Linked DNA regions of Homo sapiens: all the other regions are linked to region 3. The links are contacts of gene promoters, found by promoter capture Hi-C in blood cells and fetal thymus (Javierre and others, 2016). All regions are on one chromosome and are shown on one strand. Each heading gives the region's core, a stretch centred on a gene start or on the middle of the fragment in contact. The rest is flanking DNA. Distances are from core to core; before and after follow the strand shown. Region 1 holds the start of TRY-GTA4-1 (tRNA-Tyr (anticodon GTA) 4-1). Region 2 overlaps LOC124903282 (a long non-coding RNA gene). Region 3 holds the start of OSGEP (O-sialoglycoprotein endopeptidase). Region 4 overlaps RNASE11-AS1 (RNASE11 and RNASE12 antisense RNA 1). Region 5 has its middle 4.2 kb from the start of OR6S1. Region 6 has its middle 4.1 kb from the start of TRT-TGT3-1.

Region 1 (4,323 bases), core at 1,388-3,887, 200 kb after region 3:
TTCAAGGCTACAGTGAGCTATGATTATGCCCCTGAATTCTAGCCTGGGTGACAGAAGAGACCCTGTCTAAAAAAAAAAAAAAAAAATAGGGGATGGGTGAAGTAGAAGACAGAAGTGTCAGTGTTGGACTGCTTACCCTGACCCCATGTGTTTGACAATGTTTCAGATCTTATCTGGTGTGTGTCACTATATCGGGGGACCTGCCCCGATAATCATGTAGGTTCTTTTCTATTTTCCTAAGCATCGACTGGCTTGAGAAATAAAAGGACAGAGTACAAAAGAGAGAAATTTTAAAGCTGGGCATCCGGGGGAGACATCACACATTGGTAGGATCCGTGATGCCCCACAAGCCACAAAAACCAGCAAGTTTTTATTAGGGAGTTTCAAAAGGGGAGGGAGATACGAATAGGTGTCGGTGACAGACATCAAGTACTTAACAGGGTAATAGAATATCACAAGGCAAGTGGAGACAGGGCGAGATCACAGGACCACAGGACCGAAGTGAAATTAAAATTGCTAATGAAGTTTTGGCACCATTGTCATTGATAACATCTTATCAGGAGACAGGGTTTTGAGATCAACCGGTCTGACCAAAGTTTATTAGGCGGGAATTTCCTCTTCCTAATAAGCCTGGGAGTGCTATGGGAGACTGGAGTTTATTTCACCTCTGCAATCTCGACCATAAGAGACAGGTACGCCCCGGGGGGGGCCAGTTCAGAGACCTACCCCTAGGTGCGCATTCTCTTTCTCAGGGACGTTCCATGCTGAGAAAAGGAATTCAGCGATATTTCTCCCGTTTGCTTTTGAAAGAAGAGAAATATGGCTCTGTTCCCCCCGGCTCACCGGCGGTCAGAGTTTAAGGTTATCTCTCTTATTCCCTGAACATTGCTGTTATACTGTTCTTTTTTCAGGGTGCCCACATTTCATATTGCTCAAACACACATGCTGTACAATTTGTGTACTTAACGCAATTATTACAGGGTCCTGAGACAATATACATCCTCCTCAACTGACAGGATTAAGAGATTAAAGTAAAGAGAGGCATAGGAAATCACAAGGGTATTGATTGGGGAAGTGATAAGTGTCCATGAAATCTTTACAATTTATGTTTAGAGATTGCAGTAAAGACAGGCACAAGAAATTACAAAAGTATTAATTTGGGGAACTAATAAATGTCCATAAAATCTTCACAATCCACATTCTTCTCTCATGGCTTCAGCCGGTCCCTCTGTTTGGGGTCCCTGACTTCCCGCAACACCACTACCCCAAGACCACTGGGACACCCACCCCCCAGCTGAACACCTACTGGAGGTGCAGCAAGCCACATCCAAGGAACCTGGCCACCATTGAGTTTAAGTCCACTCCCTGTCTTATGGCAAGTGGGTCTGGATCTCTGAGGGCAAGGGTCAGATGCTCACAGAACCCAGCTACTCTGTCATGGCTCAAACAGGAAGAGTTGGTACCCAGGTTTCAACCTTGCTTGTGCTGGCCACCAAAGCCCATTCACTGGCTCACCTCTGATTTTCCCACCAAAACACTAAACAGAGGTTCCGAAGAACCTGGGGGTCTCTATATCCCATCATGAACTTATCCAATAAGGGACAAAGGTACTACATTTCGTCTGTGTTCGCTAGCCTCTGCCTTTGGTGTCATTGGAGGCAGGGATCTCTCTGTGGCTCCAAAGCCATAGAATCATCCTGGGCACTGGCGATGCCACAGCTTGGCCTCCTTCTGTTAGCAATGAGAAGCAGGAAAGGCTGACAAAGCCAGGGGAACATTGGGGGAAATAGGGAGGTGGAGGGAGATCAGGAGCTGCTTCCCAAGAAAGACCTGTGTAGTCTTCAGTTTGAGACCTGCAATGAAACAGCTCTTGTGGCCACAGCAGGTAGTGGAGGCAGGTGTCCCAGTCCCCAGAGGGTTTCAGAGGGCCACGTTCCCATGGGCCATTTGGCTTGGAGTGCTCTCTGTGATAGGTTGCATGTGCGCATCAAATCTCTGGAGATTTTTTCTGAGATGGTGAGATGAGACCAAGGAACGCTTGTTGGCTTTCTTCTCTGCCCCATACCCACAGAACCCACTCCATCTCCCTGGAGGTGTAACCCCTGTTCGTTGGAGAAAACCTAAGTCCATTTCCTACTTCATTCTCTCTGATTAGGCCTCAGCACTTTTTCCTTTGGGGTGAGGGTAGAGTCCAACTGTGCCTCTAGTCCCAAAGCTCCAAACTGCTCAGACCCACCAGGCAGTGGCCTAAGGCAGCGAATTCGTGTGCCTCTGTATAATGACAGCTGTCACTCAAGCTTTACTTCTGCTCCCTGCCATGGACCCAACAGCCTCTAACTCTCCAGGATCACTGAAGCTCTTTTCCAGCCTGCACTTTTGTACTCCCCTTCCATCTCCCTTACCCTCTCAAGTAGCAGGGCACTCAACACAGGTGTTTTTGCTGGCTTTGAACTGAATATTAGGTCCTTTCTTTTCTAGCAGGGGCCAAACTCCGCTGTAGCAGCATGAAAAGTTGTGAAGGCTCAGAAAAAGTGAGGCTTGAGGGATTTGGGAAAAGCTATGGGGATAGGGGATAGACTCACCTTGTCCTCAACCTAAAGGGCAACCTGACCTTGCTAATGGAAGTTCTTAGGATTAGGAAATTCTCAGGGTGACAGCTGTCTCCCCAAAGTAGACACAGCAAAGTGGGAATGAACATTTTCTTTACGCCTGTATAGGTCTATACATTTCCAGCCAAGGAGAATGAGAGGGGCAGGCTGAGGGCTCAGGGAAGAGAGATAGGGAGGCAGAGACACAGAGACAAAGAGAAATATACAGAGACAGAGAAACGGTGAAAGAGAGAAAGAGAATGAGACAGAGACAAACATGAGACTGTCAGATCTCAATGCAGTGATAAAGAGCCTGAGATGGATGAGAGTGAGAGGGTGAGTTTTCACGGAAGATACCACGGTTATCCCCACTTTACACCCTTGTCAAGTAAGCTTGACGTTCTCCAGGGAACTTGACCTTCCAGGCTTTGCCCACCTGGTCAGGAGAGCTCTGTCAAAGGTGAGCACAGCGGTTTTGTCACAGCCAGTGGAGATGCTCAAGCTCGAGAGCAGTCTGTGAAGAAAAGCGAAGGAGCACAGGGTGGGGAAGTAGTGGTCAGCATGAATAGAGGGATTAGTGGGGTCACAAAGTAGAAGCAAGGCGTGGGAAGCTAGGTGATCAGGAAAGACTTCGTGGGTGTTTTGCCCGGGAGAGTGTGGTTACTACTTGGAAGCTGCAGGGCTTTTAACCAAAAGCATCACGCACTTCCTTCGAGCTGGAATCGAACCAGCGACCTAAGGATGTCCGCAAATGTCTATACAATCTACAGTCCTCCGCTCTACCAGCTGAGCTATCGAAGGATGCATGCTATCAAAGCTGGTTCATTGGACTTTCTGCAAACAGAGGGAGCCACATCCCTGGAATGCTTGAGGTCCAATACGCGTTGGGTTGGTTGGCACCCACCTTGGAAGAGAACCCTGCGCCGCTTGACACCACACCCCTTTCAGGGCGGAGCAAATCCTCTGGGCGAGGATGCCTGGTGTCTCTCGGGCTCTGATAGCCACCATCCACGAGGAGGAGCTCTCATCTGTGACAGCCTTCCTCTCCCTGAGCATCCACCTTTCTACAGGTGAGGATGACAGCCCCCAGTGGCCTGAGAGAAAATGAGAAGGTGAGTCAGCGAGGGCACAGGGATTGGCGAGGTGGTTGGGTGGGTCTAGTCGGGGAGAGAACGCTGGAGGAGGAAAAGAGGAGAACCCTAATGGGCGCTGGATAGGCAGCTGACAACTCCAACCCAACCTCAGAGTCTGGTGCAGGTCTCTAATGGGCGCTTCCATAATAGTCTGGCCTCTCTACTCCCTCCCCTACCACACACACAGGGCCCTCCTCCCCAGGTGCCCCGCCCTTCTCCTCATAGTAGTCTATGCTCACATTTTGGTGCATTGAGGTGCACTGGGAAGTGAGGTGAGGAAATCTCTCCCAGGCTTGCAGAGGCACATGTGAGATACCCTCTTCTGCAAACAGGCTGAGAATTCCAATCAGAAGCTGCTGATTTCTGAAGTAGGGCAAAGTTCTGTGGGTTTCTTTGAAAAACAAGAAGCCAGGTAGAGGACAGAAGTGTGAGCTTTGGACTCCTTATCCTGAACCCACATCTTTGACAAAAGTTTCAGATCCCATCTGGTGTGTGCCCACCACTCCGAGACCACTGAGGCACCCTCTCTGCAGCAGAACACCTAGAGGAGGACAGGAAGCCACACCCACGGGACCTAGCCTCCATTGAGTTTATGTCCACTT
Region 2 (4,182 bases), core at 272-2,771, 250 kb after region 3:
GCTTCCACAAGTTATGAATACAACTTGTTTTCTTTCCCCCTGCTAACCTGTCTATAGTTAATTCACAGGCTCCCACCCACTGAACCAAAGTTGGTAGAGGGAAAGTTTTCCCTCCTAATAGCATGTCTGTGTATATTTAGAGTGAGAAAGAAGGATGAAGAGATAATTCGTCTTTGTCACCATCCAGGTAGTCATGGGAGTTGGGACCTGTGGTATAATAAAAAATAAATTTGAACTTAGTTCCTGGTTCCTGCCACAGACCTTCTAAAATGCTTGGAATTTCCTGAGTGATAGTGTAACCAAACTAAGGGTCAGCTGATCACTGCTCACTGCTCAAAAGCAAGACTTGCAAGACAAGAGTTGGTGCAGGAAAAGCAGGTTTATTCAAGAGCTAGCAACCTGAGGAGATGGTGGACTAGCGCCTCAAAGACTATTTCAAAATTTTAGGCTAGCTAAAGGGATTTTAAGAAGTAGGAGGCATGGAAACTATGAGCAGGAGTGGTGCAGGGTGCAGGTTTGCATGTCTTACTCTGATGGCTATCTTCAGTAACGGATCACCTGGAGGTCTGGCTGGCATCACCATGACTGCAACTAGCTTATGGATTAACCCCCCTCAGTGATTTTTCTGAGAATGTAGGATTCCACAATCTCAAATTCATGCCCGGTTTATTTCAAGATTAGCCCCTGGGTTTCTTAAGCAAGGATACGGCTAGATACTGAATAAATCAAAGGGTGAGGCTATTCATTATTGAAGCAGGCTGATTATTCCAGCTACAAACTCCCCACTGCCAATTCCTGTTTCATTTCTATGGGAGATCAGGTGTCAATTTCTTTCTAGCTACTTCCTGCTGAATGAGGGCATCACTAGGGAGCTGAAGAATGGAATTTATTTACCTGGAGTTGGAAGTATTCATGCATTCCTTGACTTATGGAAGTGATTTTTTACAGCATCATTGACCTGGGAGTTAGGAGCCTTTCCAATTAAGGAAAACACAATCTTGCAATATCACACATATGGTGCAACAAGAGTATAACCCATAGAGAATATACCTATTCCTATAATCATAGCTGGAACTACTAGCAGTTTTTTCCACCAAGTAGGTCCGTATCCAAACCATGAAGATAACCACTGGTTTAGGAACATTGTGGGGTCAGACATAGCATTGATTTGTCTGTGCACGTCTTGAAGGGCTAAGGAGATGTTTCGCAAATTACCTAGGATATACACAAAACATTTAGTTTCAATTATGGGTCAAGGTCCCTCCCAGCAGCTGTGAGTACATCAAGGGCCATGTGGTTTTGCAAGACTACTTTTCCCATCATAGTCATTTCAGAGGTTACTAATGAGATGCCCTTAAATGTGTCTTTCAGCACTTGCTATAATTTGTAAGTGCCTCAATATGCCAGATGATGCTTTCTAAGCCTGCTTGGGGGAAAACAAGGGACAGGAGATGGTCGTAGGAAGGGAAAACCGGCCTGGTCCATTGGTGTAACACATCTGGAAAGTGTGCAGGCTGCCTGGTGGTTTTTGTTAATCAGCCCCGGACCTATGGGGGTCCTAACGTGCACTGCCCTATCCATCCATCAGGTAGACATGGCCGAAGATTAGTTTCACATAACTATTGAGTTCCACTGGGGACCAGCCACCAAATTTTGGGTCTGTGTCCAATCAGTGGTAAACAGGTTTGTCTAATATAGCACTAAAGAATGTTCATATTGATGTAGAGGCATCCTATCCACATTTTTAGTAACATTCGGCCAATGATTCTAAGAGTGATTCCTTTGTTCCCAACATGAAGTGGCAATTTGGGTTAAGTGACTAATAGTGGAGATCATCCAGAGGTAATCGTCCCAAATTTGATAAAAACTCACCTACCGTGTAATGGTTATTAGTAGCCAAAATCTTGGGGGCCATCTAGGAAAACTCCTTTAAGAGAGGGATTGCATACTCAGAGGTCCTTTGGATAGTCCGGTTATAATGAAGAGTTTTCCAGGATCTGGATTCTGAAGCGTTATATTAATGCCAGGCCATTTTTAAAAAATATTACCTTAAGTTACCAAGGTCCTGATTTTCCCATGAACAGTTTTTCATATACGTTTGTAAATGTATCTAATCAGTCCCCTGCAGGGGTGATACTCACTAAAGTAGCCCAGAAGTGCTAGAGATGGGTAGCAATCCACATACCCAGCAAGCATCTTAGTGTAGACTATCTGCATAATGTTATGCCCACTGTAGAAATAGACTAGTTTTAGCAGATGTCAAAAAAGTTTACTCATTATGATAAAGAATAACAGAAATTTAATCCTATAGTACAAAAAGATTTTTCTTAAGCAGTAGCTTCAGTTCTCCAGTTGGCTCACAAGTCCAACCAGGTTGATTGTCTGCTGTGTCAGGTTGGGGAGGGGCGATTTTTACCGAAATGTGATGTATGCGTGGTTTGACTCCAGCCAGCTTAACAGATGAATGAGTAGTTAATAAAACATCATAATGACCTGTCCACTTTTTGGCTGGCTGTTGTTGGTCCAGTCCTTGTTTTTACCAAGATTTTAGCGGCACTTTATCCTTGGATGAAAAGGGTGAAGGGGCTTTTTTGTAAGACACATAAAACTGGAAAGAACAAAAAGAACAAACTTGTGCAGGGTTAGTGATTTATGTCTTAGTTGTTGTACATATTGTTTAATTCTTGATTAATTTATTAAGTCCAAGGGTGGGGTCCCTGGCCAAGAACTTCAGAAGGGTCTCCCACACACAATTTCAAAAAGGCTTAATTTAAGCCCACTTCAGGGTGCTACCCCAATCCATAGCAGGGCAATAGGTAAAACCCTTTACCATTTTAAATCTGTTTCCCGATAGAGTTTTGCCAGGGGTTTTTTTTGGTTTTTTTGTTTGTTTGTTTTGTTTTGTTTTTGTTTTTGTTTTTGTTTTTTAGCATGTGGATCATCTTTTCAGTCTTTCCAGTTGATTGTGGCCTCCAACAAGAGTGTCATTTCCATTTGATCTGTAATGCTTGGCTTATCCTTTGTGTGATCTCAGAAATTAAAGAAGGATTATTGTTGCTTGGTATGGAGTAAGGAAGTCCAAATCGAGGAATGATTTCTTTTAGCAGAGCCTTAGCTACTTCTGCAGCTTTCTCAGACTTGTTCGGATAGGCTTCAATCTCTTGCTCGGGTAAGCTTCAACCTTTCCAGAAAATGTGTCTACAAACACTAGTAGGTACTTATAAATCCCAGTGTTTTTGGCATCTGGGTGAAATCAACCTGCCAGTCCTCGAATGGTCATATTCCTTTGTATTGTATCCTCCTCTGGGAAGAGTTGCATGCAGTTCTTGAATCATTTGGGGTATATAGATAACATGCTTGTATAATCTTTTGAATGATCTTTTGAAGGTGTGGCCCTTTGAGATATGGCTACACCAGGTGAGCCAGTCCATCTCTGCCATAGTGTGTCCCCTCATGCAGGTCTTTCAGGACTGGGTATACCAGGGCCTCAGAGAGTAATATCCCATGAGTGTTAGCTTTCCATGAGGAACAAGGGTCTGTGTTGGTCAATGTCCACTCATGTGTGCATTCTTCATTTCATTCAGTGTAGTGGAGTTTAAATTCTGACAAGTTTAAATGGAGTATTAAGGTCCCAAGTAAATATGTTTCTTGAGTGGCCTGCTTTGCAGCTTTATCAGCCACTTGATTCCCTTTGGTTATTGGGGAGTCATCCTTTTGGTGGCCTTGGCAGTGCATAATAGCAACTTGAGTTGGCAGAACAACTGCCTCTGACAAAGCTAAAATTTCCAGCAGGTGTTTAATGTCTTTATTTCTTGAGGTTAAGAATCCCCTTTCTTTCTGAATGACCCCACGGGCATACACTACCAAGAAGGCATACTTGGAGTAGGTGTAAATGTTTACCCATTTCTCTTGAGACTGTTTTAAGGCCCTGATGAGAGCAATCCATTCAGCTTTTTGTGCTGAAGTACCAGCAGCGGGGACATAGGCTTCTACTACTTTGTCTAGGGTCACTGGAGCATACCTGGCCTGGCGTTGTCCTCCTTCTGTGAAACTGCTTCAGTCAGTGTATAGCTCCCAGTCCGGAGTGGCCATCAGATGATCTGACAGATCTGGTCTGCTGGAATAGACTGCATCAAGAATTTCTAAACAATTATGCTCCAGTTCATAGTTGGACTCAGTGGC
Region 3 (4,760 bases), core at 691-3,190:
GCTAACTTTTGTATTTTTAGTAGAGACGGGGTTTCACCATATTGGCCAGGCTGGTCTCGAACTCCTGACCTCGTGATCCGTCTGCCTCGGCCTCCCAAAGTGCTGGGATTACAGGCCTGAGCCACCGTGCCTGGCCTTTGGTGATCTTCTTTCTCTGTGACCCTACAGAACTCTATGCATGATGATGTCATTTATTTAACATAACAATTACAGCATTATAATTTTCTGTGGTTTGCTCAGCTTAATCATGAATATCTCAAAGCATTGAGTATTTTATTTATCTTTGTATTCCCAGTGCCCAAGTGCCCAGAGGAGTGAATGCTAAACATACATATATATTTCTAGTGAGTATCTGTCACAACATCACCTGTTCAGGGAGGCTTTTCAGATACATGCAAGTCAGCTGCCCTCTCCTATGTATGCAAGTGTTTGAGGGGAGAGTAGCAAGATATAATAGCTTATTTAAAATATCAATTAAAAGTTGTAATGTGTTTTGTACTTTTTTTTTTTTTGAGACAGAGTTTCACTCTTGATGCCCAGGCTGGAGTGCAATGGCACCATCTCGGCTCACTGCAACCTCTGTCTCCCGGGTTCACGCAATTCTCCTGCCTCAGCCTCCCAAGTAGCTGGGTTTACAGGCATGCGCCACCACGCCCAGTTAATTTTTTGTATTTTTTAGTGGAAACATGGTTTCTCCATGTTGGTCAGGCTGGTCTCGAACCCCGACCTCAGGTGATCTGCCTGCCTTGGCCTCCCAAAGTGCTGGGATTACAGGCGTGAGCCACCACGCCCAGCCGTGTTTGGTACTTTCATCTAATCTTCAAGACCTAATGATACAGGTATTATTCCCATTTTAAAAACAAAGACCAGGCCCGAGCGGTGGCTCATGCCTGTAATTTCCACACTTTGGGAGGCTGGGGTGGGCGGATCATCTGAGGTCAGGAGTTCGAGACCAGCTTGGCCTGGTGGAAACCCCGACTCTACTAAAAATACAAAATTTAGCTGGATGTGGTGGCGCACACCTATAGTCCTAGCTACTTGGGAGGCTGGGGTAGAAGAATCGCTTGAACCTGGAAGGCAGAGATTGCAGTGAGCCGAGATCGTGCCACTGCATTCCAGCCTGGGCGACAGAGCAAGACTCTGTCTCAAAAAAATAAAATAAAATAAAAAATAAAGACCAAATGTCCAAAACAAAAATATTTAATATGAATATAGCAAAGCCAGCCAGTTCTGTCTGACATGTAAGCCGGGAGTCTTTCCACTCTCATCTCTCTACTCATCCTAGAATATTTCAAAAAATAATTTTTTTTTAAAAAGGGAGTGTATATTCAGGGCAACTGGAATCTATACTCCTGCTAAGCGTTTTTTAAACAGAATATTTCGAGTCCATCTCTATTATACTGTTTATCATGCTGTAGTATAAACATCTATTTATATGTCTGACTCCACAGCAGTATAACATCTATTTCTGAATACTTAGCACATAAAATGCGCTCAGTAAAAGGTAAATGAACTCATCAGATCCACGTCCAAGTGCCTGTAACTCTTCTAGTCATCAGCCTTGTGACGTTAATAATGTCACATAATTTCAATGAGACTCGGATCGAAAGCTGCACCTCACTAGTATTTAGGAAGATGGAAGGCTGATTCTGTGCGGGGAAGTGCGCGGAAAACTCTTAAGTCCCCTACTCACCAACCTGTGCCAGGAGGCGTGACGTAAGTCCGCCGCGGGTTCGCCAGCACCTTGCCATCCCGCACCACGCCCACGCCAATCTTATTGGCGCTGCCTTCAAAACCCAGCACCGCCGGCATGGCGGAGGCTGGGAGAAAACGCCGACAGGACTCCTGGCAATGTCAGGAGCTGTGGAGGTCCTCACTAGTCCGCGCTGGGCCGCAGCTTTCCGGAGCGCAGAGGAAGCTGGCCAGCCTGCAGATAGCACTGGGAAAGACACCGCGGAACTCCCGCGAGCGGAGACCCGCCAAGGCCCCTCCAGGGACCTGTCTTCCTAACTGCCAGGGACGCCGAGCCAACTCTGTGCCTTACATTCGTATCCGTTTTCCTATCTCTTTCCCGTGGTCCAGCCCAGCCTTCTCCACTGTTTTTTTCCCTCTTGCACATAGTTAGAATCTTAAGTCAGTGTCACACAATGTGCTGTGCATCTGGCACAACGATAAACAGCCCGAGGGAGGGTTGGGGACCTAAGTGTCCTAGAGAATTAGAGGAGGGAGGCGAGGCTAAGCGTCTCCGTCACGTGGTGTCAGACAGACCAATCACGCGCATTCTTCGGCCACGACAAGCGCGCCTCTGATCACGTGACCAGGTCCGCTACCCACGTGGGGGCTCAGCGTGCACCCTTCTTTGTGCTCGGGTTAGGAGGAGCTAGGCTGCCATCGGGCCGGTGCAGATACGGGGTTGCTCTTTTGCTCATAAGAGGGGCTTCGCTGGCAGTCTGAACGGCAAGCTTGAGTCAGGACCCTTAATTAAGATCCTCAATTGGCTGGAGGGCAGATCTCGCGAGTAGGGTACAAGGCACTATGAAATGATCTAGTTTCGTGGGTGAGGGGCTGAAGGGCCTATGATGCACGGAGGCGGGGAAAGGATTTAGAGATAACGTGGTTTGAAAGGCGGGACCTGGTGCGGGGACGCTCTTGGGAGGAGTCTTCTCCCCAGCCTTAGCTGGTTTCATGATTTCTTTGCGTCTGTAGGCAACGCGGTAAAAATATTGCTTCGGTGGGTGACGCGGTACAGCTGCCCAAGGGCGTTCGTAACGGGAATGCCGAAGCGTGGGAAAAAGGGAGCGGTGGCGGAAGACGGGGATGAGCTCAGGACAGGTAAGGGAATGAAATCAGCCCTTCTTCCTAGAAGCTGCGGCGGGGGTGTTTGTCATTCCCTTGATGTACGGTAAGTACGGGCCGACTCATTTTTGCAGGGGTTTGTGAAGAAGTCGCAGGAACCGTAGGCTTTCGTTGGGTCTATAGTTAACGCCGGATCGCAGTTGGAAACCACCAGCTTTTTGTCAGTATATATTACTCATTTTATAGAGCCAGAGGCCAAGAAGAGTAAGACGGCCGCAAAGAAAAATGACAAAGAGGCAGCAGGAGAGGGCCCAGCCCTGTATGAGGACCCCCCAGATCAGAAAACCTCACCCAGTGGCAAACCTGCCACACTCAAGATCTGCTCTTGGAATGTGGATGGGCTTCGAGCCTGGATTAAGAAGAAAGGATTAGATGTGAGTGGAATTTGAGGGAAAGAGACATTTTTTAGTATTGAATGGTCTTAGGGTTTAGTCACCCCTTTTCTCCGTTTAGCCTTCAGGCTGTTTTATTTTTCTCCTGCCCGTAGTTTTCTGTGGGGCTTCCCCAGTCTTGCCAGTTGTATTTCCTAAATGTCTGTTCCTTCACTTCCATTGCCATTTTCTTTTTTAGTGTTCTCTCCTCTTCCCAGAATGTTGCAAAAACCTCTTCACTATACTTCCTCCATTTTATCTTCCTGCATTGCATTCCATATGAAGCATGTCCTCCATTCCATTAACCATAGCTTAAAAATCTTAGCTTGCTATCCACTGCCTATAGAAAAAACACATCTCCTTGGCATAGCATGTAAGACTTTCTTACCTCTCTATATTTGTTTTCATTTATCTAGCTTAGAATTGTTTGAATATTGTGCTGCTTGACTCGAACTCCTTAGGCCAAGAGACTGTTTAACCCGTGCGTATCTATGACTTAGCATATAGATTATTCAATAAATGTTCTGCTGAATTGATAATACGTTTTCCACCTTTCTTTTCACTTACAGTGGGTAAAGGAAGAAGCCCCAGATATACTGTGCCTTCAAGAGACCAAATGTTCAGAGAACAAACTACCAGCTGAACTTCAGGAGCTGCCTGGACTCTCTCATCAATACTGGTCAGCTCCTTCGGACAAGGAAGGGTACAGTGGCGTGGGCCTGCTTTCCCGCCAGTGCCCACTCAAAGTTTCTTACGGCATAGGTGAGACCCTATTGATGCCTAATGCCTGAACTCTTCAAAACCAATTGCTAATTCTCTATCTCTGCCCCACCTCTTGATTGCTTTCCCTTTTCTTATAGTTTTTTATGCTAATTCTGTTTCATTTCTATAGGCGATGAGGAGCATGATCAGGAAGGCCGGGTGATTGTGGCTGAATTTGACTCGTTTGTGCTGGTAACAGCATATGTACCTAATGCAGGCCGAGGTCTGGTACGACTGGAGTACCGGCAGCGCTGGGATGAAGCCTTTCGCAAGTTCCTGAAGGGCCTGGCTTCCCGAAAGCCCCTTGTGCTGTGTGGAGACCTCAATGTGGCACATGAAGAAATTGACCTTCGCAACCCCAAGGGGAACAAAAAGAATGCTGGCTTCACGCCACAAGAGCGCCAAGGCTTCGGGGAATTACTGCAGGCTGTGCCACTGGCTGACAGCTTTAGGCACCTCTACCCCAACACACCCTATGCCTACACCTTTTGGACTTATATGATGAATGCTCGATCCAAGAATGTTGGTTGGCGCCTTGATTACTTTTTGTTGTCCCACTCTCTGTTACCTGCATTGTGTGACAGCAAGATCCGTTCCAAGGCCCTCGGCAGTGATCACTGTCCTATCACCCTATACCTAGCACTGTGACACCACCCCTAAATCACTTTGAGCCTGGGAAATAAGCCCCCTCAACTACCATTCCTTCTTTAAACACTCTTCAGAGAAATCTGCATTCTATTTCTCATGTATAAAACTAGGAATCCTCCAACC
Region 4 (4,633 bases), core at 111-2,610, 140 kb after region 3:
CTATTATTCTATTCTTTCTACTTTTGTGTATATTTGCAAATAAGTATTTTTTAAAAATTAAATTCCTACTCTCATGGAATTTACATCTGGTGGAAGGAGATAGACAATGAAAAATAAGCATAATCAATACTTTAGTGTTTTAGAGGATAATAAGTGCTGTGCACTTTTTTTTTTTTTTTTTTTTTTTTTTTTGAGACAGAGTCTCACTCTGTTGCCCAGGCTGGAGTGCAGTGGCACAATCGCGGCTCACTGCAACCTCAGCCTCCCAGGCTCAAGCGATTCTCATGCTTCAGCCTCCCGACTAGCCGGGATCACAGGTATGCACAACTATGCCTGGCTAATTTTTGTAGTTTTGTAGAGATGGGGTTTTGCTATGTTGCCCACGCTGGTCTGTAACTCTTGGACTCAAGCAAGTCACCCATCTTGGCCTCCCAAAGTGCTGGGATTTCAGGCGTGAGCCACTGCACCCAGCTGGTGTTGTGCAAATTTAAATAGGATGATCAGAGTAGTCCTAGCCATTACAGGTTTTCTCTTTCTGCCTTTCTAACCAAGCACTAATATTGTTTGAGAATGTACCAGTTCTCCACATAACCATGAGCTTCAAGGGAACCTGCTGGGGATCTGGGTGTGAATCTGCTGGGCCCTGAGTCAATCAAGGTAATCCCATTCATGTGGGGCCAGTGAGAAGGAAAGGATGCACAGCTGGAAGCTTTTGGGAAGAGTGCACAGGGTAAGGATAAGCTGCTGTAACAAAGACATCATCAGGCCAGGCGCAGTGGCTTATGCCTGTAATCCCAGCACTTTGGGAGGTGGAGGCGGGCGGATCACCTGAGGTCAGGAGTTGGAGACCAGCCTGGCTAACACAGTGAAACCCTGTCTCTACTAAAAATACAAAAATTAGCCAGGCATGGTGGCGTGTGCCTGTAATCCCAGCAACTCCGGAGGCCAAGGCAGGAGAATCACTTGAACCCAGGAGGCGGAGGTTGGAGTGAGCCGAGATCGTGCCACTGCACTCCAGCCTGGGCAACAGAATGGGGCTCCATCTCAAAAAAACAAGAACAAAAACAAAACAAAAAAACAAAGACATCATCAGTAATCCAGTGACTTAAAGAAGTTAGAAAGTGATTTCTTCTTGGCTTAACAGTTCAAGGTGAGCACTTCAGATTCTGTTCACACTATCATTCAGAAACTCAGAATTATTCATATATACTTTTCTAAAACCATAAAACACTTTAAGAAAATATTAAGAACTAATTCAACTATATTATGGAGTGGATACCCACCAGGTTATCTAGTCAGACTTTTTTTTAATTTAGATTTTTATTTTTAATTGACAAATAATAATTTTATATATTTATGAGGTTCAATGTGAAGTTTTGATATATATAGTACACTGTGGGATGATTATATCAAGCAAATTAACATATCCATTACTTTTTTAATAGTGCAGATCCTTTTTTAATAGCGAGAACATTTAAAACCTACTCTTCGAATAATTTTGAAATCTACAAAATGGCAGCATGGCCCAGGAGTGTGACTGGCAGTGAAGGAGCTGGGAAGACCTTGGATGCAGGAAGGTCATTTAAAGCAAAAGGTGCTCCCCTAACTCCACAATTTTCTAGACTTTTCCTACTTCTCTATCACCCAGAAGCTACCTTTGAGCACTTTGAGCACCTCTCTTAAGACAAAAAGGTTGAAAGTGCCTCTGAACTGGGTACCGATTTCTTTCCTTTTCTGTGTATTTTCACTAAGGAGCCCCCCGAACCATTTTCACCTCCTACTCTGGTGATGAAAAGAGTCAGGTGATATCCTGAGTTTCTTTCTAACAGTGGAAGTAGGCCTTGCTCATGAGGAAATCTAGGCTGGTTCACACACACTCTTAGTCACCCAATGCAAGTTCACATGTCAAGAAATATTTCTAAGAGCAATGCAAAGGCCATGGGACTTTACCAACCCCTCCAGGAACCCCTTCTTAAACTAACCACCCCCCTCTCTTCCTTGAGTGTCTACAAGAAGCTTTTCTGTGTGGTTCCAGCACATAACTCCCTAAGTGGTGCTACAGGCGATTCATCTGGCCTTCTCCTTGCATGCTGTGAGCCTCTGGAGAGCAAGAGGAATGTTCTTGTTCTCTCTAGCACAGTGCCTGGTATTTCTGAAGAGATCAAAAAATGTTTGTGGAGTGGATGAATGGGTGAAAGATGTCAGATCTTTCCCCTCTTCTGCCAGTAAGTAGCTGTGAAGTCATGTCACTGCTCAGGGTCTGCATTGCTTCCACTCTAAAATGGGGGTAATAAGAAAGAATAAAGGAAGAATTTGATTATTTGTAAGATCTCGCTCTGCTTTCACAAACTAAAGTTCTGAGCTAAATTAAAATGGACTCCATGGCTGTTCTCTTAAGATGACAATGCTCTGGCCACAAGTTTTATTTTCCCCCACCCTGAGGGAATAGGAGGTGGTCTCTGCCTCCCAGCCTGGAGTGCAGGGGAGCAGTAGCAACCGGGAAGCTGGAGCCTGGGTACCAGACCCTGAAGTGGGAGCTGACTCATGAGTGTGGTGGAGCAGTTCTGTGAACTTGCCTAGGAATTGGCATTCGGTTGAAGGGACACCTTCCTAAATCGGGAACACTTACTACTGGGGAAAAAAGGCACGAGACACCCCTGCTCTGGAGGGTTCATTGTCTACTTTTGGCAATTGCAGAGCTGTTTTCTTGACAAGGTGTGAAATGAAGGATTGTGCGGTACCCTCATAAGCCCCTGGGCACTCTTCCAAACCCCCTCCTACCACCTCACCTGTCCCCTTGTCCAGGTGGAGTAGATAGACTGGGGCCTGTGTGTGTCCAGAACAAGCTGTTCCTGATCGTGGGCAGGACATGTTCTGACGAAGCCATCAGTCTCAGCCCTGCAGTTATAGCCCTGTGCTATGCACATAGGAGGTCCTGTTCTCCCTTGGGGAAAAACAAGTCATTTCTTGCTTTATAACTTTCTTCGCGTCTCTGAAATGATTGCCACCAGGCAATAGCCCAAGGAAGACCAGGCTAAGGGAAAGTTACCTAAGTGTGTCTTTCTAACAGCTTCTGGGTAGGCCGGTGCCTTCAGTTTTCCACTTCTGAGAATGCTTTGATCATAGCTTATCTGGCTTCTCCTGTGTGTCCCCAGGCTCAGCCCTCAAAAGTTCCCTTTGAATTCTCCTTGAGGAAGGACCATTAGCCAGCCTTCCCCTATGGCACCTCCCGGACATTCATATCTTTCATAGCACTCCCAGGCTTGAAATAATATAAATGTCCCCTGATCCCAAATAATCACGAAGGCCCTAAAGAACCCAGATGTGGTAAAAACAGAAACTCCCACGGAGAACCCCGCCTCTACTAAAAATACAAAAAATTAGCCAGATGTGGTGCCGCGCGCCTGTAGTCCCAGCTACTCGGGAGGCTGAGGCAGGAGAATCACTTGAACCCGGGAGATGGAGGTTGCAATGAGCCGAGATTGCGCTATTGCACTCCAGCCTGGGCAACAGAGCAAGACTCCGTCTTGAAAAAAACAAAAAACAAAGAACAAAAAAAACACAGAAACTCCCTTTTCATAACCACCTAACTAGAGCAGAATGAGCAGTGAGCCGAGAGTTGTGAAAGCTGGATTCCTGGCTTGACACTGGCCCTGCCACTAACTAGTTCTGTGACCCTGAGCTTCATTCCATGGGTCTCACTGGCCTCCTTTTAAAGTGGCCGGGAGTTGGCAGAATTGGTGGGATGGAGGAGGTGAAAACAACTCACAGTTTTAGAGGTGAAAAAGCACCTCAAACTATACCATTCTCTGAAGCAGGGCTCTATGCTTGTGTATTAGGAAGTTGAAACGTGGCTCCCAGGGGCTCAGCCACGTTTCCAACAGCTTGTTCTGGACACGTACAGGCCCCAGTCTGTCTACTCCACCTGGACAAGGGGACAGGTGAGGTTGTAGGAGGGGGTTTGGAACAGTGCCTAGGGGCTTATGAGGGTACTGCACAAATCCTTCATTTCACACCTTGTCAACCCTACTGCACCACAGTGATCTTTTTAAAACACAAATCCAGTTATGTGCCTGTGATATCCACTTTCTTCATCTAAAATGTGTCAATGGCTTTTCATTTGTCTTAAGATAATGACCACAGTCCTCACCTCTGCCTACCAGGCCTTGCATAGATGGCCTCTCCTCAGACCACTCTCTCTCCATCTTCATATTCCTGCCATGCACTCCGCTTTTTTAGTTCCCTCAACTCTTTGGGCTTTCTTCCAACTCAAGGTTTTTGTTCGTTTGTTGCTGTTGTTTGTTGTTGTTTTGAGATGGAGTCTTGCTTTATTGCCCAGGCTGGAGTGCAGTGGTGCGATCTCAGCTCACTGCAACCTCTGTCTCCTCAGATTAAGCGATCTTCCTGCCTCAGCCTCCCAAGTAGCTGGGATTTCAAGCATGCACCACCGTGCCTGGCTAATTTTTGTATTTGCAGTAGAGACAAGGTTTCACCATGTTGGCCAGGCTAGTCTCAAACTCCTGACCTCAAGTGATCCGCCTCTCTCGGCCTCCCAAAAGTGCTGGGATTACAGGCGTGAGCCACCAGGCCCAGCCCAACTTAAGGTTTGTTGTTGTGGTTGTTGTTGGTTCCA
Region 5 (4,606 bases), core at 1,594-4,093, 180 kb after region 3:
CATTGTGAAAATGACCATACTGCCAAAAGCAATCTACAGATTCAATACAATTCCCATAAAAATACCATCGTCATTCTTCACAGAACTAGAAAAAAAAATCCTAAAATTCACATGAATCCAAAAAAAGAGCCTGCATAGCCCCCAAGCAAAGTTAAGTGTAAAGAACAAATCTGGAGGCATCACATTACCTGTCTTCAAACTATACTGCAAGGCTACAGTTACCAAAACAGCGTGGTACCAGTAAAACAAAACAAAACATGTAGACCAATGTAACAGAATAGAGAACCCAGAAAAAAAACCAACTACTTACAGTCAACTAATCTTTGACAAAGCATACAAAAACATAAGTGGGGAAAGGACGCCCTATTCAACAAATGGTGCTGGGATAATTGGCAAGCCATATGTAAAGGAATGATATTGGATTCTCATCTCTCATCTTATACAAAAATCAACTCAAGATGGATCAAAGACCTGAAATCATAAAAATTCTAGAAGATAGCATCAGAAAAACTCTTCTAAACATTGACTTAGGCAAATAATTCATTACCAAGAACCCAAAAGCAAATGCAGCAAAAACAAAAATAAATGAGACCTAATTAAACTAAAAAGCTTCTGCATAGCAAAAGAAATAATCAGCAGAGTAAAAGACAACCCACAGAGTGAGAGAAAATATTCACGAACTATGCATCCAACACAGGATTCAAATATCCAGAATCTACAAGGAAATAAAACAAATCAGCAAGAAAAAAGTAAATAATCCCATGAAAAAGTGGGCAAAGGACATGAATAGACATTTCTCAAAAGGAGATATACAAGTGGCCAATAAACATGAAAAAATACTCAACATCACTAATTATCAGGGAAATGCAAATTAAAACCACAGTGAGATACCACCTTGCTCCTGCAAGAATGGCCATAATTTAAAAATCAAAAAATAATAGATGTTGGGGTGGATGTGGTAAAAAAAGGAACATTTTGTACACTGCTGGTGGGAATGTAAACTAGTACAACCACTATGGAAAACAATATGGAGATTCCTTAAAGAACTGAAAGTAGAACTACCATTCAATCCACCAATCCCACGACTGAGTATCTACCCAAAGGAATAGAAGGCATTATATGAAAAAGACACTTGCATACACATGTTTATTTACAGCAGCACAATTTGCAAGTGCAAAAATATGGAAGCAACATAAATGTCCATCAACAAATGAGTGGATAAAGAAAATGTGCTATATTGGCCGGGCATGGTGACTCACGCCTGTAATTCCAGCACTTTGGGAGATGGAGGTGGGTGGATCACTTGAGGCCAGGAGTTAGAGACCAGCCTGGCCAACATGGTGAAACCCTGTCTCTACTAACCAGCTATGGTGGTGCATGCCTGTAATCCCAGCTACTCGCGAGGCTGAGGCAGGAGAATCATTTGAATCCAGGAGGCAGAGGTTACAGTGAGCCAAGAACGTGCCACTGCACTCCTGCCTGGGTGTCAGAGTGAGACTCCGGCTCAAAAAAACAAAAATAAAGTGGTACATATACACCATGGAATACTACTCAGCCATAAAAAGAAACAAAATAATGGCATTGGATGGAGTTGGAGACCATTATTGTAAGTGAAATAACTCAGGAATGGAAAACCAAATATTGTATGTTCTCACTTACAAGTGAGAGCTAAGCTATGAGGATGCAAAGGCATAAGGAGGAAATAATGGACTTTGGGAACTTGGGGAAATGGTGGGAGGGCACTAAAAGATAAAAGACTCCATATTGCCTACAGTATACACTGCTCGGGTGATGGGTGCACCAAAATCTCAGAAATCACCGCTAAAGAACTTCATGTAACCAAAAACTACCTGTTCCCCCAAAACAATTGAAATAAAATAAATAAATAACAAAGAACACATTGACTATTTCAAATAAGAGGACAAGATCAGTTGTGCCAAACTCTGCTGAGGTAAGTATAAAGAGTAACATATGCTTGCTGAGTTTAGCATCATTGTCATTATCAATGATGTCATTAAGAGCTTCATTTATTTATTTAATTTTTGAGACCAGGTCTCACCCTTTGGCCCAGGCTGGAGTGCAGTGATGCGATCTTGGCTGACTGTAGCCTCGAAATCCCAGGCTCAAACAATCCCCCTTGTTGGCTTCCCAGCATGCTGGGATTGTAGGCGTGAGCCACTGCACCTGGCCTTATTCAGAGTTTTATATGTAAAATGATGCAAACAGAAGCATTTTCTACTTCTTCTAAATTAAGTATATTCTGTCTTAACTGTATGTTTAAAAACAAAATACAAATTTCATGTCAATGAAGGTAAGATCTTTGAAAGGAAAGCTTAGAAATAAATATCAATAAACAGATTTTTATTTATTCTTTTATTTAATCACAAACTTTCATGGACACACAAGTTTGTATCACTGTTATATGCATGCACACATTCACATGCGCACTCAATCTACACATACCATCATACCAAAATTTCAGGCAAATTTATTTCATATAATAGTATGAATAAAGACGCTTGTCATGGTACCTTTATAGAAATTCGAAGCCAGGCGCGGTGGCTCACGCTTGTAATCCCAGCACTTTGGGGAGGGTGAGGCTAGCAGATCACCTGAGGTCGGGAGTTCCAGACCAGCCTGACCAACAAGGATAAACCCCGTCTCTGCTAAAAATACAAAATTAGCTGGGTGTGGTGGCACGTGCCTATAATCCCAGCTACTCGGGAGGCTGAGGCAGGAGAATCGCTTGAACCCGGGAGGCAGAGGTTGCAGTGAGCTGAGATCACGCCATTGGTTTCCAGCCCGGACAACAGAGTAAGACTCCATCTCAAAAACAGAAAAAAAATTATATATTTATATATTCATATGTATTATGTCTACCCCAAAAGTCTATGAATTCCTTGATGGCAGGGGCCAATATTTGTACCTCTAACATACCAACTTACTTCCTAGAACACAGTATTCAACAAATTTTATTGAATTAAATTGAGCCCAAAGTTATTTTTCACAATGAAACACATGTTGAAAATGGATGGTTTAACATGCTTTATTGCCATAATATGTGGCAATTACTTCAAGAAATGCTGTAAATTGTTGCATGAATTCCTTTCCTTGGCCAGTGGCTGGAATAGACTTCAGATTTTTATGTTTCATGAAACTAGGTAATTTTTAAGGCGATATTTCATCTCCTCTCTGGGCAACACTTCTAGATCACTCCAGAAGAGTTATTTTTACCTTCGAATCATTCTTTCCATTCCTTTAGTACTCAGAAATATTTTGGAATAAAATTATCTAGTGTGTTTGCATGCATTATGAATAGAACTAGATAAAAACATTTCTATTTTCCATGCCCACTGAAGCTTATGGCTAACTCTTTTGACGCTAATACGCACTTTGCCAGTTTTGCAGCACTATTTTGAGTTTAGTATGCTGTCGATACCTTGATATTTACATGTTTTGTACATCGTTCCTATGTACACACACTCTAACGTGACAAATCCTGTTTAATGAATGATGACCTCTGTGAAAATTTCTCTAACAAGAAAATGCACTGGGAAGAGTAAACCAATTTTTATAAGATCTCCAATGTCCTTTTGTAAATCTCCTTCTCATCCACATTTCCTTAAATTATTATCCGTCCCTTAGTTCTAAACTCTAAAGTTCAAGCTGCTTGAGGTTAGAAACAATTTATTCTTGTTCATCTTTGTATATATTCATATATCACAGTGTTCAACAAAGATTCTTCACAGACCTTTGCTGAATGAATGAATGAATAAATAAATAAATAAATAAATAAATAAATAAATAAATATTTGTTTCCAAGATTTCCAAAGGGATTTCCATGAATAGGAATCCCTTTTCAAATGTCCAATAAACTAGACAAAATTTACTACAAAGTTTGGTTCTTGGTAGATACAACAATATTTGGCATTTGGCATTCTTTTTTTTTTTTTTTTTAGATGGAGTTTTGCTCTTTCGCCCAGGCTGGAGTGAAGTGGCACGATCTTGGCTCGCTGCAAACCTCCGCCCCCTGGGTTCAGTGATTCTCCTGCCTCCTTATATAATGCCTCCTTATATAATGAAATTATATGAAATTACCCTTTTTGGTAGCTGGGATTAAAGGCGCCCGCCACCACGCCCGGCTAATTTTTGTGTTTTTGTAGAGGCGGGGTTTCGCCATGTTGGCCAGACTGGTCTAGGAACTCCTGACCTCAGGTGATCAGCCTGTCTCGGCCTTCCAAAGGGCTAGGATTACAGGCGTGAGCCACCGTGTCCAGCCTATGTGGCATTCTTAACTCTTTAATATTAAAGCTCCTTATTTTACTAAAAACAAAAGAAGATTTCACACAACAGATACAAGAATGTAAAAAGATGAACAAATGAATGAAACATAATCCAATGACAAAACGAGTGGAGATGTCTTTATCAATGTACTAAAGTGCACACTAGAAGAATACAGTAAATGCTATTACTCATGAAATCCCTCACTGATCTGCTTTCCCAACAGCACCTGGAATTACCACAGAGAAGTAATTAAGTCCCTTTATTAAATTTGCTTCACCTCTTTTTCCTCTAGCATTAAATGTAAATTTTTCTAACAAGCATG
Region 6 (4,871 bases), core at 955-3,454, 160 kb after region 3:
TCAGAGAGACTGGCCATAGGCAAAATTACTAAGCAGTGGAAACTGTCTCTCAAACGGCCTTCTTCCTCTTTGCTGTTTCTCCTCCTCTCTTTGCTTGTCTTTCTCTGATGGTATTCATGATGGCCCCTCACCTTCTCTTAGAACCTGTCCCCTCATTCTCACCCTGTCACAATTTGGCAAGCTCACTTCTATTCCCTACATGAATTGATTTCTTCTCTTCTAACCACAGACTGTTATTCATTTAAGAATAATTTAAATTTGGGAGGCTGAGGCGGGCGGATCACGAGGTCAGGAGATTGAGACCATCCTGGCTAACACGGTGAAAACCCATCTGTACTAAAAATACAAAAAATTAGCGCATGGTGGCACGGGTCTGTAGTCCCAGCTACTCGGGAGGTTGGGGCGGGAGAATTGCTTGAACCCGGGAGGCGGAGGTTGCAGTGAGCCGAGATGGCGCCACTGCACTCCAGCCTGGGCGACAGAGCCAGACTCAGTCTAAAAATAATAATAATAATAATAATTTAAAATATTCAAAGAAGTATTCCAAGGAGAGAAGCCAGGGCAACAACCATGGATCTGATGTTTCTGGTTTCTGCTAGACAGAGGCTGGCTTTGCGGAGAGGGTTCTCACTCCTCTATCAGTACAAATAAACCTTTGACCAATTGACCCTATCCACATTCAGCCCACTTCCTACCATCAAAGGTTGTCCCAGGACCTTATGTTACATTCTCATTCTTCCAGGCCCTTACTCCACAATTCACTCGAGTTGGCGTGTCTGACGCTACGAAACTCCAAAAGCCCCTTCTACTAGTTTATTAGACTTAGCATCAGCAAACCTGGTTGTGCTCCAGTGTGTTCTGGCCCATCCTGAGCACTTCCTCTGCTGAGCAACTTGACCCCTAGTTGTAATCTTAGCAATATTTTTAATTGCTTTTTTTGTTGTTTGTCTGTATTTCTTCCATTTCCCCTCAACTTTTCATTTGGAAAAACTTTAATCCTAATGTGGAAATAAATGAACACCAGTTAATGAGAACCAGCAAAAGCTATTCAGAGCTTTCTATAGCAAAGGAGTTAGCAGCCTTCACTTGTGATTTTTTAAAAATATAATTTCCATATTATTTTTCTCTAGAGAGAGTTTTTCTTCAATCCTTAAGGACTCACCTTCTTATATGGGCTTTGGTAGGGGTCATGTGGCAGCACCCATAGGTCTGAATCAGGGTGGCGGTGTTCGGTCCTTGCAAGCTTCACAAGATTAATTCCTGTCTACCTTGCTGTGAATGACACAACTCCCACCGTAACAGAATTTCACGAACAACTTGGGAAGCCCATAGGCGTCAAAGATACTAGCTTCAGAAATGTCCCTGACAGGTGCAGTCTCTACTACGTTTTGAATGATGAACTTCTTAATAGTCTTGCCTTTGGGTAGGCATAGGGCATAATTCATGTAGCAAATAGGCTGCACGTGGCTGTGGCCCTTTTTGGCATGACCATTGTTATTTCTTTTCTTTGCCATCTTGGAAGTGGGGACCCAAAAGAACGTCACTTGTGATTTGGCAGAGACTCAAAGGCAAGCAGAGGAGTGGGAAAACTTTATAGTGGACAAAGGGAAGCCTTCAAGTGTGCCCTGACTGGAGACTGTGGCATGGGGACACGGTGGGCAGGCTAACTAGAAGCGGGGCATCCTATGTGATTGGTTAGGGATGCATATTTGGCTTTCTCTGGTTGATGCTAACTTGGAAACAGAAACAAATAATAGGAAAGGTGTTAATTATTCATAAATTCCTAGCCACTGGGTCTGGTTTTTACAGAGGTTATTGTTTGGCTTCCTGGGCTGGTTGCTTAGAGATAGTGGTCTGACTTCCTAAAAGTCTGGCTTAAAGGCAATGGACTGGCCGGGCGCTGTGGTTCACGCCTGTAATCCCAGCACTCTGGGAGGCTGAGGCAGGCGGATCACCTGAGGGTCAGGAGTTCGAGACCAGCGTGACCAAAATGGTGAAACCCTGTCTCTACTAAAAATACAAAATTAGCCTGGCGTGGTGGTGCATACCTGTAATCCCAGCTACTCAGGAGGCTGAGGCAAGAGGATTGCTTGAACCCAGGAGGCAGAGATAGCCAGTGATAGGCGGTGAGCCAAGATAGTGCCATTGCACTCCAGCCTGGGCAACAAGAGTGAAAATCCGTCTCAAAAAAATAAATAAATAAAAGAGAGAGAGAGATAATGGGCTGGCTTCCTGTGCTGGTCACTGTGGGTTGACTTCCTGCACTGGCTGTTGTAGGTTAGTGCTGGTCAGAGGTCTATTTTTATATATGTTCTGGCCACTGTCTGTTTGTATAGTAATACCCTAGGGAAAAGTTAAAAAAACGGTACGGTAAAACCTGTATACCCTTTAACTAGAACACCCATTATTAGGAACATTTGCATCCTTCTTACCTACCCTTCCCCCTGTTTACATGTACTATCCAAGAGCAGAATATTAGTACCATAACACACCCAAGAAAATTTATAATTCCTTATATGCTAGTAGACATACAGTCCATATTCAGATTTCCCCACTTACCCACTCCCTATTAAAATAATGTAAATTCTAACAATATATCTCACTGCATTTAGTTGTAACATCTCTTTGGTCTCTTTTAATCTAGAAAATTCCCCTCCTCTTAGACTTTCTTTTCTCATGGCAGTTGTCTTACAGGAAGTCTCACATTCTGAATGTGATTATTTCCTCATATAAGATTCAGTTCAATATTTACTTATTTCCTCATGATTAGATTCAGCTTAAATATTTTTGTCAAGGACCCTACTACTAATTTTCCAGGATAGATTGTCTAGGGTCTAGGTAGGACTGAATTTCTAGTAAACCAAGCAGGAAGAATGAAGTCTAATGACTGATACTTATTTACATGACAGTGCACTATTTCAAGGAGCTTCTGTTCAGAAAAGGAAACTATTATGTCATCCTTTGGGGAAGACTTTGTAATTTTCAGCTTCATTGGCTATAGAATATTTTTAAAGGTCAGGAATTTATATCCCAGAAAAGTAGGCACAATTACCAGGACTCAACCAATTATTCACTGTAACAACATCCACGAACACCTATGACAGGCATACTGGTTTCCAAGATACATAGACTGTTTATCTCAGACATCAAGGAACGTGAGTTTGCAAAGCTTTAGCCACACACACACACACACACACACACACACACGTACTTGCCTCGATTTGTACTTTCTCAAAGTTTTCTTCAGATTTCCACAGACATCTTACCTTCTGGAAACTGAGGCTACACTCACTCTGGTGATTATCAGTTACCACTTGTATTGCCATCTAACTGTAGTGTGTGTCTCTGTGTGTTTGTTCATTCTTCTAGGTTTGTATTGTATATATTGTAAAAGGTGGAGAAGATATTTTCTTTTATTCAAATTCAAGTTCCCAATGAGCAAGGATAATATTCTTGTTTGTCTTCTGCTCCTCCCCAAACCTGATCAAATGATAAGCACAGATTTATTTGGTGGATGTGAAGTGGGCAAGATTCTATTTCCGAGACCCAAAAGGCTTCCTGGCACATGCACCCCACTGGCTTGCCTCAAATGTTTAAACCCATTATAAACACTCCTGTGTGTTCACTGAGAAGCTGACTGTGTTTTGAGCACTTGGTACACTATGGAATTAAAGTCAGGGACTAGGAAAAGCAGTAGAGGGAAATCAAAGAAGAAATTAAATTGTACATCAGACACGATCTTTTTAAACCCAAAGCACCAAGACTATTACAATATTTATGGGGACTGAGTAGGTGAAGGAGGACAATGATACCAGAAGGATGGACAGAAACAAAGAATAAAAAATGCCTCATATCCTTCCCCTTTCCATTCCTGTTGATCATACCATAGTTCAAAGATTGCATTTCTTTTCACCTGAAGCTTGCAGAGGTGATTGATTTCACTGGATTACTCCATGAAATCCCTCTGGTCCCATCTCTCCAATGAAGTTCAGTGAAAAGTGTAAAGACAAATACAAACTAGAAATAAGGGGCTTAAATCTCCCTGCTGAGTATAAGGAAATTTCCCTTCCCTCTTTTTACTTTGAGCATTTACTTTTGAAAACTTTTTTTTTTTTTTGAGACAGTCTTGCTCTGTCGCCCAGGCTGGAGTGCGGTGGTGTGATCTCAGCTCACTGCAACCTCTGCCTCGCGGGTTCAAGCGATTCTCCTGCCTCAGCCTCCCAAGTAGCTGGGATTACAGGTGTGTGCCACCACGCCTGGCTAAATTTTTTTGTATTTTTAGTAGAGACAGGTTTCACCATGTTGGTCAGGCTGGTCTCGAACTCCTGACCTCATGATTCGCCCTCCTCAGCCTCCCAAAGCGCTGGGATTACAGGCGTGAGCCACTGCATAGAAAACTTCTAAGTACAATCACAGTACTTTGCTTTACTGTGATGGTCAATGTGATAACCATATGAAACCATATCAGAGCTAAGTAAGTCGGGTTCAATAAATGCTGAAAGCATTGACTATCTGATGGAGTCATCAAAAATATTATTTAATTTAAATATAGTATTTAATTTTGAGCAAGATTTTACAGCACATAGAGGGGTCCTCAGGCCAATAGGGGGATGGCTTTTTTTTTTTTTTTTTTTTTTGAGACAGAGTTTCACTCTTATTGTCCAAGCTGGAGTGCAATGGCACGATCTCAGCTCACCACAACCTCCGCCTCCCAGGTTCAAGCAATGCTCCTGCCTCAGCCTCCCAAGTAGCTGAGATTACAGGCGCACAACACCACGCCCGGCTAATTTTTGTATGTTTAGTAGAGACGGGGTTTCACCATGTTGGTTAGGCTGGTCTTGAACTCCTGACCTCGTGATCCGCCCGCCTAG

Evidence for each region. The method cuts DNA at HindIII sites, captures the fragments that hold promoters and counts their contacts. A CHiCAGO score of 5 or more calls a contact.
Region 1: a fragment that was not itself captured here is called in contact with the fragment with the promoter of OSGEP in region 3 in 9 of 17 cell types (total CD8 T cells, naive CD4 T cells, naive B cells and 6 more); the score reaches 7.5 in total CD8 T cells.
Region 2: a contact is called between a fragment that was not itself captured here and the fragment with the promoter of OSGEP in region 3, in 4 of 17 cell types (naive B cells, erythroblasts, total B cells and 1 more). The highest score is 7.7, in naive B cells.
Region 4: a fragment that was not itself captured here is called in contact with the fragment with the promoter of OSGEP in region 3 in 13 of 17 cell types (megakaryocytes, erythroblasts, M0 macrophages and 10 more); the score reaches 9.9 in megakaryocytes.
Region 5: a fragment that was not itself captured here is called in contact with the fragment with the promoter of OSGEP in region 3 in 8 of 17 cell types (total B cells, total CD8 T cells, naive CD4 T cells and 5 more); the score reaches 8.0 in total B cells.
Region 6: a contact is called between a fragment that was not itself captured here and the fragment with the promoter of OSGEP in region 3, in 16 of 17 cell types (naive CD4 T cells, megakaryocytes, naive CD8 T cells and 13 more). The highest score is 13.1, in naive CD4 T cells.

What each region holds. Positions count from the first base shown.
Region 1 is chr14:20,654,169-20,658,491 of GRCh38, forward strand. It overlaps TRY-GTA4-1 (tRNA-Tyr (anticodon GTA) 4-1), which reads right to left and starts at 3,389; the gene lies at 3,296-3,389. It overlaps LOC124903281 (a long non-coding RNA gene), which reads left to right. Exons shown (of 2, transcript XR_007064059.1): 2 at 3,537-4,323. The HindIII fragment of the contact is 684 bases long and covers 2,296-2,979 here.
Region 2 is chr14:20,707,511-20,711,692 of GRCh38, forward strand. It overlaps LOC124903282 (a long non-coding RNA gene), which reads right to left. Exons shown (of 2, transcript XR_007064061.1): 2 at 2,283-4,182. Among named protein-coding and RNA genes, the nearest start is that of EGILA, 2.7 kb to the left of the region's middle. The HindIII fragment of the contact is 3,301 bases long and covers 1-3,172 here.
Region 3 is chr14:20,452,872-20,457,631 of GRCh38, forward strand. It overlaps OSGEP (O-sialoglycoprotein endopeptidase), which reads right to left and starts at 1,941. Exons shown (of 11, transcript NM_017807.4): 1 at 1,698-1,941. The coding sequence starts at 1,812. APEX1 (apurinic/apyrimidinic endodeoxyribonuclease 1) reads left to right here and starts at 2,355. Exons shown (of 5, transcript NM_001641.4): 1 at 2,355-2,523; 2 at 2,707-2,832; 3 at 3,043-3,230; 4 at 3,797-3,989; 5 at 4,120-4,760. The coding sequence starts at 2,775. The coding sequence ends at 4,637. RefSeq lists silencers at 1-591, 4,219-4,513, promoters at 1,854-2,298, 1,928-2,465, 2,130-2,464, enhancers at 1,889-1,978, 2,399-2,618 and cis regulatory regions at 1,925-2,255, 2,186-2,341, 2,212-2,253, 2,250-2,255, 2,266-2,298 and 2 more. The HindIII fragment of the contact is 3,687 bases long and covers 1-2,460 here.
Region 4 is chr14:20,595,226-20,599,858 of GRCh38, forward strand. RNASE11-AS1 (RNASE11 and RNASE12 antisense RNA 1) reads left to right here. Exons shown (of 5, transcript NR_122043.1): 3 at 1,451-1,594. Among named protein-coding and RNA genes, the nearest start is that of RNASE12, 6.2 kb to the left of the region's middle. The HindIII fragment of the contact is 1,307 bases long and covers 708-2,014 here.
Region 5 is chr14:20,635,193-20,639,798 of GRCh38, forward strand. No RefSeq gene overlaps it. Among named protein-coding and RNA genes, the nearest start is that of OR6S1, 4.2 kb to the right of the region's middle. The HindIII fragment of the contact is 1,027 bases long and covers 2,331-3,357 here.
Region 6 is chr14:20,615,478-20,620,348 of GRCh38, forward strand. It overlaps the pseudogene RPS26P9. Among named protein-coding and RNA genes, the nearest start is that of TRT-TGT3-1, 4.1 kb to the left of the region's middle. The HindIII fragment of the contact is 1,926 bases long and covers 1,242-3,167 here.